5 separate regions of the Homo sapiens genome follow, and all the other regions are linked to region 1. The links are contacts of gene promoters, found by promoter capture Hi-C in blood cells and fetal thymus (Javierre and others, 2016). All regions are on one chromosome and are shown on one strand. The core of a region is centred on a gene start or on the middle of the fragment in contact, and the rest is flanking DNA. Distances in the headings are between cores, read along the strand shown.

The links. The method cuts DNA at HindIII sites, captures the fragments that hold promoters and counts their contacts. A CHiCAGO score of 5 or more calls a contact.
Region 2: the fragment with the promoter of KRT34 here is called in contact with the fragment with the promoter of KRT26 in region 1 in 8 of 17 cell types (M1 macrophages, monocytes, M2 macrophages and 5 more); the score reaches 8.8 in M1 macrophages.
Region 3: a contact is called between a fragment that was not itself captured here and the fragment with the promoter of KRT26 in region 1, in 1 of 17 cell types (endothelial precursors). The highest score is 5.8, in endothelial precursors.
Region 4: a fragment that was not itself captured here is called in contact with the fragment with the promoter of KRT26 in region 1 in 3 of 17 cell types (endothelial precursors, neutrophils and M2 macrophages); the score reaches 6.0 in endothelial precursors.
Region 5: a contact is called between the fragment with the promoter of KRTAP16-1 here and the fragment with the promoter of KRT26 in region 1, in 4 of 17 cell types (endothelial precursors, M0 macrophages, M1 macrophages and 1 more). The highest score is 7.9, in endothelial precursors.

What each region holds. Positions count from the first base shown.
Region 1 is chr17:40,770,912-40,773,470 of GRCh38, reverse strand. It overlaps KRT26 (keratin 26), which reads left to right and starts at 1,270. Exons shown (of 8, transcript NM_181539.5): 1 at 1,270-1,798; 2 at 2,235-2,317. The coding sequence starts at 1,358. The HindIII fragment of the contact is 2,390 bases long and covers 1-1,523 here.
Region 2 is chr17:41,381,020-41,383,578 of GRCh38, reverse strand. It overlaps KRT34 (keratin 34), which reads left to right and starts at 1,273. Exons shown (of 7, transcript NM_001386014.1): 1 at 1,273-1,680; 2 at 1,784-1,866; 3 at 2,367-2,523. The coding sequence starts at 1,333. RefSeq lists an enhancer at 1,081-2,280. The HindIII fragment of the contact is 8,651 bases long and covers 1-2,559 here.
Region 3 is chr17:41,346,321-41,348,879 of GRCh38, reverse strand. KRT33A (keratin 33A) reads left to right here. Exons shown (of 7, transcript NM_004138.4): 3 at 241-397; 4 at 1,658-1,819; 5 at 1,911-2,036; 6 at 2,212-2,432. Among named protein-coding and RNA genes, the nearest start is that of KRT33A, 3.2 kb to the left of the region's middle. RefSeq lists enhancers at 1,419-1,919, 1,920-2,420. The HindIII fragment of the contact is 520 bases long and covers 1,050-1,569 here.
Region 4 is chr17:41,329,177-41,331,735 of GRCh38, reverse strand. It overlaps the pseudogene TBC1D3P7. Among named protein-coding and RNA genes, the nearest start is that of KRTAP17-1, 15 kb to the right of the region's middle. RefSeq lists an enhancer at 1,626-2,195. The HindIII fragment of the contact is 1,543 bases long and covers 500-2,042 here.
Region 5 is chr17:41,308,016-41,310,574 of GRCh38, reverse strand. KRTAP16-1 (keratin associated protein 16-1) reads left to right here and starts at 1,266. Exons shown (of 1, transcript NM_001146182.2): 1 at 1,266-2,559. The coding sequence starts at 1,322. The HindIII fragment of the contact is 10,229 bases long and covers 1-2,559 here.

The sequences.
Region 1 (2,559 bases), core at 21-2,520:
AAAACTAAACCCATAATTAGTTAACCAATCAATTTGTATCATTATAGGTGATAGAGACCCGACCCTGTCTGACATGTCCACTTTATTATAATAATTTAAATAATTAACATTTAAAAATGTTTGTGCCTTTCAAACTGTCTTATCGTCATTCATGATTGGAACTGCTCAACATTCATTTGAGACTCTTTGATGCTATTATTTTCATTTGCCCAGTAGGGAAATGATCCAAGCCTGGATAACTTCCCAAGAGCATCAAGGCAAGAGAATAAAGAGTACTTCCCTGTGACAACTTATCTTCTCTCTAGGGTACTATAAGTACTGGTTTTCTAGGTAATGATGAAAACACCTCCCTCCTTATATATTTTACTCCTTGCTAATCAATATGATGCTCACTTCTCAAAATAATTCCTAATGTCTTAAATACATACATTTAAACTAAAAGACAGTAAACACTATTTAGGGGTAGGGAAGTGAACAATTTGGAGACTGTTAGTTGAATTGATGTCCTGCTCCTGGACCAAACCAAGAAATCTCAATCGAATTAATTCTCCACCATCATCACATATTCATGAATTATATTGAAATTAACAATAAGCAGGACTGCAGGATTTCTATTACTTCAGTTTTCAATTCAAGAAATGGTAGATTTCTTTTAAAATCTCCCACTACCAAAAGATCAATAGATGCTGAGATTTTCTGGTTTTGATAAGAAGGAAAACACACACCCAGACACCCAGGGCAGTGGCTCACACCTGTAATGCTGGCCACAGGAGGCTGAGCTGGGTGCTGAGGCTGAGGATCACTGGAGGCCAGGAGTTCGAGACCAGCCTGGGAAACATAGCGAGACCACATATCTTTAAAAAAAGGAAAAAAGAAAAAGAAACGAAAGGAAGAAAGGAAGCACTCAATGAAGTGGGAATACTAGAAATACTCTATGAGCGTTAACAGGACAAAAGTAGGAGACATTTCTCATTGGAATTATTAATTCTTTGTTATATGTGGCAGGGGGAGAATCTAGATTCTATTAATATTCCAGTGGCCAAAAAGATGCACATTTAGTCATATTTAATTTTGGCCTTTGAGGCTATGATTTAGTTTTACTTCACCTGGCACCATTTTTATATATAAAAAATATCCTTGGGGCACCTTTCCACCTACAGACTGGACGCTGTTAAAAATTACCCAATTGTGAAAAACAACAATTAGGATGCAAGTAAATTTTATTACAGACTGGCATAGTCAAGACTGAAATGACCCAGTGAATACTATAAAAGGCCAAGGGAGCTAACAAGTGTGGAAGGTGAACCCTGGCTTTGCTCCTCTTTCTGGGAAGGGGTTGCCCGGCTGTGCTGCCACCATGTCTTTTCGACTTTCTGGTGGATCCAGGAGGATCTGCTCGCGAACTGGGTCTGGTAGGCTGTCCGGTGGAGGAACAGGCTTCGTGGCTGGGAATGTGTGTGTTGGATCGGGAGCAAGAAGCAGCTTTTCTTGTACTCTTGAGGGCATCTCTTCTGGAGGAAGCTTCTGCAATAGCGGTGGAGGGTTGGGAAGTGGTGCCTGTGCTGGTTTTCTTGGCAATGAGCACAGCCTCCTCTCTGGGAATGAAAAGGTGACCATGCAGAATCTCAACGACCGCCTGGCATCCTACCTGGACCATGTGCATGCTCTAGAGGAGGCCAACGCAGACCTGGAGCAGAAGATCAAGGGCTGGTACGAGAAATGTGAGCCTGGCTCTTCCCGGGAACACGATCATGACTATAGCAGATACTTCTCAGTCATAGAAGATCTTAAAAGGCAGGTAAGAAATAGGGATTTGCATACTTTTACTACAGACTTTGTGTGTTGATAATTTAAAGAAGAGAAAATATAAAATGTGCCTAACAAATTTATGTGATGTAAGATTTGTTCACTCTGTATTTCCAGTGCTAAGCACAGTACCTGGCAATAAAATCTTGTAGAATTAAATAATGAAAAAGAAATCATTTCAAAACAGATATAGTCACTTCGTTTTTCATATATTTAGCTCATACCATTTGATCAAAAGTAGTAAAAGTATCTATGTGGCTCTTAAGCTCTGGATGCTTATTATCTGAAGAAAATCCAGATTTCTTTAACATAGAAAAAAGATACTAAAACAGATGTTTGACAGATTAAGAAGATATAAAATCACACTGAAGTCTGGAGCCTCCTTTGACTTTTGGTAATTAACATTTTTCACAATCTTCCCTATTTAGATTATTTCTGCGACCATCTGCAATGCCAGCATTGTTCTACAAAATGACAATGCCAGACTGACCGCTGATGACTTCAGGCTGAAGTAGGTGAAAACAAACTGATTAATTATATTAATAAAAGTTAAAATATTACAATTGGATTAAGGAATATATATTTTGCTTTGAAAACCAAAATGTTTTTCTAAAGCCAGACTAGATCAATAAAGAAATTGAATTAAATAAGCCGTTATAAAAAGAGCTATCATGGTTGGATAGAGTAGCTCATGCCTGTAATCCCAGCACCTTGGGAGGCTGAGGCAGGCAGATCACTTGAGGTCAGGAGTTT
Region 2 (2,559 bases), core at 24-2,523, 610 kb before region 1:
ATTCATGCTTCAGTGCTGCCATCTGAACTCTCACTGCTCCAGACTGTTTCCAGCATATTTTTTCTTCTAGATATTTCTACTCTTGCTCATCTTTAGAGAGGCTGTTGCTTTAGTACAAGTTGGCAAATTTTTTAATTTTAGGGCTTTGTGGACACTATAGTCTCTGTCACAACTACACAACTCTGCCACTGTAGCACAAAAGCAGCCATATACAATAGCTAAACAAATGGGCATGGCTGTGTTCCATTAAAACTTTATTTACTGCCGGACGCATTGGCTCACGCCTGTAATCCCAGCACTTTGGGAGGCCGAGGCGGGCGGATCACGAGTTCAGGAGTTCAAGAGCAGCCTGGCCAACATGGTGAAACCCCATTTCTGCTAAAAACACAAAAATTAGCCGGGTGTGGTGGCGGGCACCTGTAATCCCAGCTACTCGGGGGGCTGAGGCAGATAATTGCTTGAACCCGGGAGGTGGAGGTTGCAGTGAGCCGAGATCGTGCCACTGCACTCCAGCCTGGGCGACAGAGTGAGACTCTGTCTCAAAAAAAAAAAAACAGAAAACAAACAAACAAAAACTTTATTTACAAAAATTCAGCAGGGTAAACTTGACGTGTGGGCTGCCATTTGCAGATGCCCTCTTTTAGGTATACTCCCATCCATTCCATTGGTTTCCATTTTACTTTCTCATTTCTCAACCATGAACATGCCATTGTTTTCAGTTGCTCCATGTGTTGGCAAGTTCCCTAAACCCCAACGAATAGTAAGGCTCAGGATCATTTCGGCGAATACAGGTTGAGTTTCTGCTATAAAAACAAATTGAATGCTGAAACATGGATGAATGTGGGAGGAAAGAGCTACTTGGAAGAGTAACTCTCAAAGCTCTCTCTCAGAGCTCTCTCTCTGGGGAGAAAGAACAGTGGCGGAAACTCCTGGGTGAGGAATCCCTGATTCCCAAACAACTCCACCCCATGTCCCTGGCTGTCCTCCCCTCTGAGTAATGCAGACAGCCTTTTGGGGCTGTGATGATTCTATCTCCTATGAAGCCATCTGATGAAACTCTGATTTCACCAACCACTAGCACCCAGGAAGAGCCTGGTGTGACATAAGCTGAATGGAATAATTTTATGGGTTGAGGGGGGACTCTTTAGAAGCATCTAACTAGCATATTTTGGAGAAAAATTAGCTGAAGCATTAGGAAAGGAAACTATGCTGTATGCCAAGCCCCCACCCACAATTAATGGTATAAAAGGACTGCAGAGGAAGGAGAGACTCAAACCTGCCCACATCCACCTCCAGCAGCTTACCTGCTTTTCCATTACCTGTTCCAGCACCATGTCTTACAGTTGTTGCCTGCCCAGCCTGGGCTGCCGCACCAGCTGCTCCTCCCGGCCCTGCGTGCCCCCCAGCTGCCACGGCTACACCCTGCCTGGGGCCTGCAACATCCCCGCCAATGTGAGCAACTGCAACTGGTTCTGTGAGGGCTCCTTCAATGGCAGCGAGAAGGAGACTATGCAGTTCCTGAACGACCGCCTGGCCAGCTACCTGGAGAAGGTGCGTCAGCTGGAGCGGGACAACGCGGAGCTGGAGAAACTCATCCAGGAGCGGTCCCAGCAGCAGGAGCCCTTGCTGTGCCCCAGCTACCAGTCCTACTTCAAGACCATTGAGGAGCTCCAGCAGAAGGTGAGGGGGTTGGCCATATGGGGGGCCAGCAGCAGCTGGCTCTCTTTGAACAGTAAGACATTTTCAAGTTCAAGTGTACCTCATGAGAGAAATTTCTTTTCAGATTCTGTGTGCCAAGGCTGAGAATGCCAGGCTGGTGGTGAACATTGACAATGCCAAGCTGGCCTCTGACGACTTCAGAAGCAAGTATGTTGAACTTCAAGGTCCCTATGGTTCTTTCATGGCCCTAGGGACCTACTATTGCCTGGAAGAGAGGAGAAAGCCATTTCTCTCTATTTCTCCTCCTAGGGCTGGTTATGTAAAATTAGTTTCAAATAGGGAACTAGACTCATGTGCTGCCTGCTCTTTGGTCTATACTGGTTTTTTTTGGAAGTGTTTCTTAAACCACAAAATTCAGAGATTGAAATGAATTGTTCTTTGGGAATTGATTTGGTGGTATATTAGCTAACAAAACCGAGAACACAGTGAGAGACTTCATCTCATGTGTGCCTGTGGGCTCCTCGTGGTGTTAGGTGAGTCAGGGAACCTCTTCAGCCTATCCATGGACAGCTTGACTGAAGCATATGGAAGAGAAGAGGCAGAAAACTGTAAGTTCAAGAAGATTCAGGCCAATTCTACCCAAACAACACATGAGAGGGGAAGGTGGTTTTCTTTCCTGACTTATCCTCCCACTCCGACACGTGCAGGTACCAGACGGAGCAGTCCCTGAGGCTGTTGGTGGAGTCGGACATCAACAGCATACGCAGGATCCTGGATGAGCTGACCCTCTGCAAGTCTGACCTGGAGTCCCAGGTGGAGTCCCTGAGGGAGGAGCTGATCTGCTTGAAGAAGAACCATGAGGAGGTATGAAACAAATTCACAAAAGCAGGCCTCAGAACT
Region 3 (2,559 bases), core at 60-2,559, 580 kb before region 1:
AAGCAACCCTCTCCCCTTAGCCTCCTGAATAGCTAGGAATATAGAAGTCTATCCACTGGATCTTTAAACGTAAAATTACCAGTGCATTTTCTTCCAGCTCGATGCTGAAAACCTAAACAAAAGAGATGGCTATAAAAACTACAAACCCTAATTCCTAGTTGCCTGACTAACCAAACCAAAGCAGAGTCAAGGCCAGGCCTATTCCTGCCCAGCCTGTTCCTGACCCTCCTGTGATCACAGATATGAGACCGAGCTGTCCCTGCGGCAGCTGGTGGAGTCGGACATCAATGGCCTGCGCAGGATCCTGGATGAGCTGACCCTGTGCAGGTCTGACCTGGAGGCCCAGGTGGAGTCCCTGAAGGAGGAGCTGCTGTGCCTCAAGCAGAACCATGAGCAGGTGAGTTCCCTGAAGAGTGATGGGCTCAGACTAGCCAGGACCTGTTTCACAACTGCCACAGGGTCCAGGACAGGCTGTCAGTAGAGGCTCAATTAGCTGAGGAAGTAATTCTGCATACAAAAAGGGATATGTAGAGAATGACTAATCTAAAAACCTGTGATATGAGATTAGGATTTTTCTGCCAGAGGCAGGAATGAGAGTGAGGAAGTTGGCAAGCCCAGTAGTGAGGAAAGCTGGGTAATGAGGCAGAAGCCACAGCCTCTCCTGTGCCCAGGTTAGAGTGCATGCAGCAGCAATCTTCTATTCCAATTCTCCATTTGTAGCTGGAGAAGCCAGGATGGCCTAGGCCCATCAGGCAGAGAGGGCTGAGCTAGAACAAAATGCAATTCTCTTCGTTCCTGTCCAGAGCTCTTTCTGCTTGCTGTTCAGTGTTGCTTGGAAACAGCCTTGAGCAAAATGCTCACCATTATGGCTAAGTCAGTTGGGCAAAAAAGAAGACGTGTATTTTATGCAACCTGAAATCCAAGAACAATGTAAATGGTGACAGTTAATATTAATCAAGTGCTTAGTATGTGCCAAACATTGTGCTAAGTGCTTTAACTCCGGAGGCAGTTCTCATGTTAAGATGAAGAAATCGAGGCTTCAAGAAGCTTCTAGAAGCAATGTATTAAGTGGTAGAGATGAGGTTGAATACAAATTTGTCTGAAATCCGCCTAAGCCCAAGTACCAAGCTATGCTTAGCAGGGAAGTAAACAGATACTTATTGCCTTCAGCAAAATCTATGCTGGTGGAATCAACAAATCACCCTTTAAGTCTCTTCTATGCCAGGATGGCAGATTTTGAAGTAAGCATTCTGTATTTCCTCTTTAGCTAGACTCTGTTCTTTTTATTATCCATGCTTAAGAGTCAAACATGTGAGGCTATATGGTATACTAGCAAAAACACTGAACTGGGCATTTGGGGACCAGAGTTTAAATAATGGCCCACCATGTATCAGCTTTGAGCCCAAATCACTGAATCTCTCTAAATGAGGAGTGATACATTTAATACAAAGAGCAGAGGGAAGTCATGGGCTTGAAAGTAGTTTGTAAAAAGTGGAGTATACAAATTAGTCATTGAATATAGATCCTGGTTAGTGACAGGATCAGAGGGAACAAAGTTTCTTGAAAGCTTAAGAATGATCAGAAGTTGAATTGCATTCTCTTAAGGAGAGCACCAAGATCCTTTGTGAAATTTAAAATTTTGCCCTTTCTCCATCAGGAGGTTAACACCCTGCGCTGCCAGCTTGGAGACCGCCTCAACGTGGAGGTGGACGCTGCTCCCACTGTGGACCTGAACCAGGTCCTGAATGAGACCAGGAGTCAGTATGAGGCCCTGGTGGAAACCAACCGCAGGGAAGTGGAGCAATGGTTCGCCACGCAGGTGGGCATCTAAGCACGTGGCCACTCAGGACCCGAGGCCCCCCAGGGCCCCGGAGGCAGGGTCTGATCCTTTCTCCCCTTGGGTGTTTCAGACCGAGGAGCTGAACAAGCAGGTGGTATCCAGCTCGGAGCAGCTGCAGTCCTACCAGGCGGAGATCATCGAGCTGAGACGCACGGTCAATGCCCTGGAGATCGAGCTGCAGGCCCAGCACAACCTGGTGTGTATTGTTCAGACCTGCTGGTGAGCGATGGGAACTTGGGAGGCAGAGTCTTGGGGATGCCCTTGGGGCCACACACTCTCCTTAGCTCTTGGAGCTTGTGAGTTCTTTGGAACCCCATGGAGGAACCTTATAAGGAGCAGCTCTCTGACACTCTCAATCTTCCCCACCACAGCGAGACTCTCTGGAAAACACGCTGACAGAGAGCGAGGCCCGCTACAGCTCCCAGCTGTCCCAGGTGCAGAGACTGATCACCAACGTGGAGTCCCAGCTGGCGGAGATCCGCAGTGACCTGGAGCGGCAGAACCAGGAGTATCAGGTGCTGCTGGACGTGCGGGCGCGGCTGGAGTGTGAGATCAACACGTACCGGAGCCTGCTGGAGAGCGAGGACTGCAAGTCAGTATGGGGGTAGTAATCTTCTCCTTGGGGCATGTTAGGTTGCTGTGGAGATGAATAGTCTTCTTGATGGAAATGAATTTATAATTTCAAGCTTTTGTTTGGAGGAAGTCCAAGGAGGAACAAT
Region 4 (2,559 bases), core at 22-2,521, 560 kb before region 1:
ACAGTGGCCAGGGTGAGGCTGGCACTGTGCATCCCCTTCCCCACTGCTGAAGATGCCGCCTAGGGTGGGCTCACAGTCTTTGGGGAGTTAAGAACCATCCTGATCCTAGAGAAGGTTATTTCTGGAAGCAAAAATCCAGGGTTTATGCTCCTGGGACAGGGGATCCCTGGAGCCTCTCATCCTCCCCATAGCCTTTGCATTGGGCAGTGAAGGCGTTTTCCTGTTGAGTCTGAGGAAGGGAGAAGTGGTGTCACTTGGGGTGTCAGCTTTCATCTCACTTAGTCCTCACGGGGGCCTGCAAAGTAAGGGTCACCATCGGCCCAATTTACAGATGAGGACACTGAGGTTCAGAGAAGTTACATGATTTGCCCAAAGTGACACAGCTACTAAGTGGCTGAATGGGATTGAATCCAGGTCTTTCTGAGACAGCCCAAGCTGTTGATGGAGCCCTCTGGCTCACGGATGAGCAGGTAAAGTGAAACAAACACTTTAGAAAGCTTACCTGAGGGTGAGGGGGCAGGCAATTGAGCCTTCTGTGGGGTCCGAAATGTTTACAGTTGTCTCTCTGCGTACGTCGGGAATCAGTTTCACCACCTCCCACAAATACCAAAATCCACAGATGCTCCAGTCTTGATATAAAATGGTACAGTATTTGCATATAACCTAAGCACATCTTCCCATATGCTTTAAATCATCTCTAGATTACTTACCTATGCAATCATGTGTCAGATAGCAACATTTCAGTCCGTGCCAGAATGCATATAGAATGGTGGTCCCATAAGGTTATAATGGAGCTGCCCTATACAGGTGTACCATCTCTAAAAATTGATATCTAAAAAGAGATGGGGTCTTTTTATGTTGCCCAGACTAGTCTAGAACTTCTGGGCTCAAGTGATCCTCCCGGCATGGTCTCTCAAAGTGCTGGGATTATAGGCATGAACCACTACATCTGGCCAGGTGTACCAATTTTTTTTTTTTTTTATCATTTATACTGTATTTTTATCATTCTTTTCTGTGTTTAGATACACAAATAGCCATCATTGTGTTACCACTACCTATGGTACTCAGTATGGTAACATGCTGCAGAGGTTTGGAGCCCAGGAGCAATCAGCTCTACCATTCAGCCAAGGTGTGTGTTTGGTTGCAACCTCTGAAGGAAGCTAAGGAGGAATGACCTAAAGACAGAAGGTGAGTCCGAGGTGGGATCCTGGGACAGGTACCAGAAGTTAAGCAAAAACAGGTGAAATCTGAATGAATTTCACCATATTAATATAGTGACAGCATTAATAACCTTAAATAATAGTTAACATTATTATTCAGTTAACAGGATTGCACCCATGTTAAATTCCTTAATTTTTTTTTTAAGAGAGAAAGTCTCATTCTGTCGCCCAGGCTGGAATGCAGTGGTGCGATCATAGCTCACTGCTTCCTGGATCTCTTGGGCTCAAGCGATCCTCCTGCTTCAGCCTCCTGATTAGGTGGGACTATAGGCACACGCCACCATGCCTGGCTCCTTATTTTTTTTTTTTTTTTTTTTTAACTTTTCTCCAGGGATAGGGTCTACCTATGTTGCCCAGGCTGGTCTCAAACTCCAGGACTCAAATGAACCTTAACCTCCTGCCTTGGCCTCTCAAACTGCTGGGATTACAGGTGTGAGCCACCACACCTGGCCTAAATTTCTTAATTTGGACAAATGTGCCATGGTAATGCAAAATGTCATTATTAGGGGCAGCTGGACGGAAGGTGTCGGAGTACACTATAATGCCTTTTCAGTTTTTCTATATATCTAAAATCATTTCAAAAGTAAACATTTATTTTAAAACATGGACGTGGTTATCCTTCCATGAGTGTAAAGTACAAAAGGCAGGCTCATGGTGTTGTCAGAAGTCAGAACACTGGTTGCAGGGCTGGGGGCGCAGAGGCTGGGTTGGCTTTGTGATCTGGGGGCTGATGTGTTCCATCTGTTAATGTCTTTAGAGCTGTGCACTTTCTTCATAAATTTTCATAAGTTTAACAAAAAAGTAAAACGAGGATGGGAAGCTTGTTTGGGTTGTGGGGCCTCGGGAGTGTACTGCTGCTTGTCCCTAGCTGTGAATGGGGTGCCCTGGTCGGAAGCAGTGCTGTGTGCACTGCAGGGCCGGCAAGTGCATGTCCACGTTGTGGCTCAGTGCAGTGAAAGCCAATCTCAGCCCCTTCCGCAGTGTGGTCAGCCTGCCAGTAGGTGGCCAGCTGGTCCTTCTGGGAAATGGTGCCATCCCAGGGGTTGGGTGTGAATCTGTTTTCCACAGACAAGGCGCTCAGCAGTGGTGTCAGCCTGGTGAGCCTTGGTAAGGGCATGTGCAGGATGCTGAGCCTCTCCCGTCCCCATGCCCGTCTCATGGCCACTTGCTCTGCGGGCCCATCCAGCAAGCATGGTGGCTGGGAAAGAAGCCGGCTCCATCCACAGGGCATGCTGTTTTGCCCACCTCAGGACCAAGAGTATTCTCTGTAGTAATTCTCTTTGGTGGGAGCACTGGGAACATGAACAACAGATACCTTCAGAGTCTGAGCTGCTGAGGT
Region 5 (2,559 bases), core at 17-2,516, 540 kb before region 1:
GGTTGGTGAGAAGGAGGGACAGCCGCCTTAGATCAGGGACAGACTGTGTGTGATCTTTAGCAAGTGACTGAAACTTTCTGACCCTCTGCCCCCATTTCTTCATTTCTTTCTCTTTCTTTCTTTCTTTTCTTTCTTTCTTTCTTTCTTTCTTTCTTTCTTTCTTTCCTTCTTTCTTTCTTTCTTTCCTTTCTTTCTTTCTTTCTTTCTTTCTTTCTTTCTTTCTTTCTTTCTTCTTTTCTTTCTTCTTTCTTTCTTTTCTTTCTTTATTTCCTTCTTTCTTCCTTCCTTCCTTCTTTCCTTCTTTCCTTCCTTCATTCCTTCCTTCCTTCTTTCCTTCCTTCCTTCCTTTTTTTTCTTTTTCTTTTTTTGACAGAGTCTTCCTCTGTCACCCAGGCAGGAGTGCAGTGGCTTGATCTTGGCTCACTGCAACCTCCACCTCCCAGGTTCAAGTGATTCTCCTGCCTTAGCCTCCCAAGCATTTGGGATTACAGGTGTGTGCCACCATGCCTGGCTATTTTTTATATTTTTAGTGGAGATGGGTTTTTGCCATGTTGGCCAATCTGGTCTCGAACTTCTGACTTCAGGTGATCTGCCTGCCTCAGCCTCCCAAAGTGCTGGGATTACAGGCGTGAGCCATGGTTCCTGGACCATTTATTCATTTCTAATGGTGGAGAAAAATCTCTGCCTCATGAGATTGCTGGTGGTTTTAAGCAAGATCATTGCTGTAAGGTGCAGTCATTTAAAATCCAGCCCAGTTGTTCTTTTCCCAACTGAGTTCATCACCTCTCCTCTCAATTAATCTCTGTATGTCTATTGTTGAACTTATTATTGTATTGCAGTGAGTTTGTCTGCATGCTTATCTGCCCACTAGAAGGCGAGATCCAAGAGAATGGGTGAATAGGTCTTATTCCTGTGGCATCCTCTGAATCCAACCCAGGGCCCTGTATGGAAGACTAGAAGGTGGATAAATCATAAGTTTCATTCTTCTTTCCCTGTTCACAATGCTCAGAAATATAGATTATCCAGTTTGGAGGTGAGGATGCTTCTTCCAAGACTACCTGTAGCTCTGAGGATTCCAAATTTAGCACATCAATAAATAAACACCTTCTTTACGGGTAGATAAACAGCTTCCAGATCAACAAACGGTGGTATAATAAGATGTTCCTCTGCAAACTGGCCCAAACAACAATGAGGAAAAGATGCAGGAGTCCCAAACAGAACACGCCAGTGAGGGGGTATAAAAGTGAGGGCCTCAGGGAGCTGTCACAGTGAGGCAGCAACCTCTCAGCACTCAGCACAAGGAAGCACGGCCACCTCCACCATGTCTGGCAGTTGCTCTTCTAGGAAATGCTTCTCCGTGCCAGCCACCTCTCTCTGCTCCACTGAGGTGAGCTGTGGAGGCCCCATCTGCCTGCCCAGTTCCTGCCAGAGCCAGACATGGCAGCTGGTGACTTGTCAAGACAGCTGTGGATCATCCAGCTGTGGGCCACAGTGCCGTCAGCCCTCCTGTCCTGTGAGTAGCTGTGCCCAACCCCTGTGCTGTGATCCTGTCATTTGTGAGCCTTCTTGCTCCGTGAGCAGCGGCTGCCAACCCGTGTGCTGTGAGGCCACCACCTGTGAGCCTTCTTGCTCTGTGAGCAACTGCTACCAACCTGTGTGCTTCGAGGCCACCATCTGTGAGCCTTCTTGCTCAGTGAGCAACTGCTGCCAACCTGTGTGCTTTGAGGCCACCGTTTGTGAGCCTTCTTGTTCCGTGAGCAGCTGTGCTCAACCTGTGTGCTGTGAGCCTGCTATTTGTGAGCCTTCTTGCTCCGTGAGCAGCTGCTGCCAGCCTGTAGGCTCTGAAGCCACTTCCTGCCAACCAGTCCTCTGTGTGCCCACTTCCTGCCAGCCTGTCCTCTGCAAATCCAGCTGCTGCCAGCCAGTTGTCTGTGAGCCCAGCTGCTGTTCAGCTGTCTGCACCCTGCCTAGTTCCTGCCAACCTGTGGTCTGTGAGCCTTCCTGCTGTCAGCCGGTGTGCCCGACACCTACCTGCTCTGTGACCAGTAGCTGCCAGGCTGTCTGCTGTGACCCCAGCCCTTGTGAGCCAAGTTGCTCAGAGTCTAGCATCTGCCAGCCAGCTACGTGTGTGGCTCTGGTCTGTGAGCCAGTTTGCCTCCGCCCTGTCTGCTGTGTTCAGAGCTCGTGCGAGCCACCTTCTGTCCCCAGCACTTGCCAAGAGCCTTCTTGTTGTGTCTCCAGTATCTGCCAACCCATCTGCTCTGAGCCCAGCCCCTGCTCACCAGCTGTCTGTGTGTCCAGTCCATGCCAACCTACTTGCTATGTAGTCAAGCGCTGTCCTTCTGTCTGCCCTGAGCCAGTTTCCTGCCCATCTACCTCCTGCCGACCTCTTTCCTGCAGTCCAGGGTCTTCTGCATCTGCCATCTGCCGACCAACTTGTCCTAGGACTTTCTACATACCCAGTTCCAGCAAACGGCCTTGCAGTGCTACGATTTCCTACCGCCCGGTCTCCCGTCCGATCTGCCGCCCAATCTGCTCTGGACTCCTCACCTATAGGCA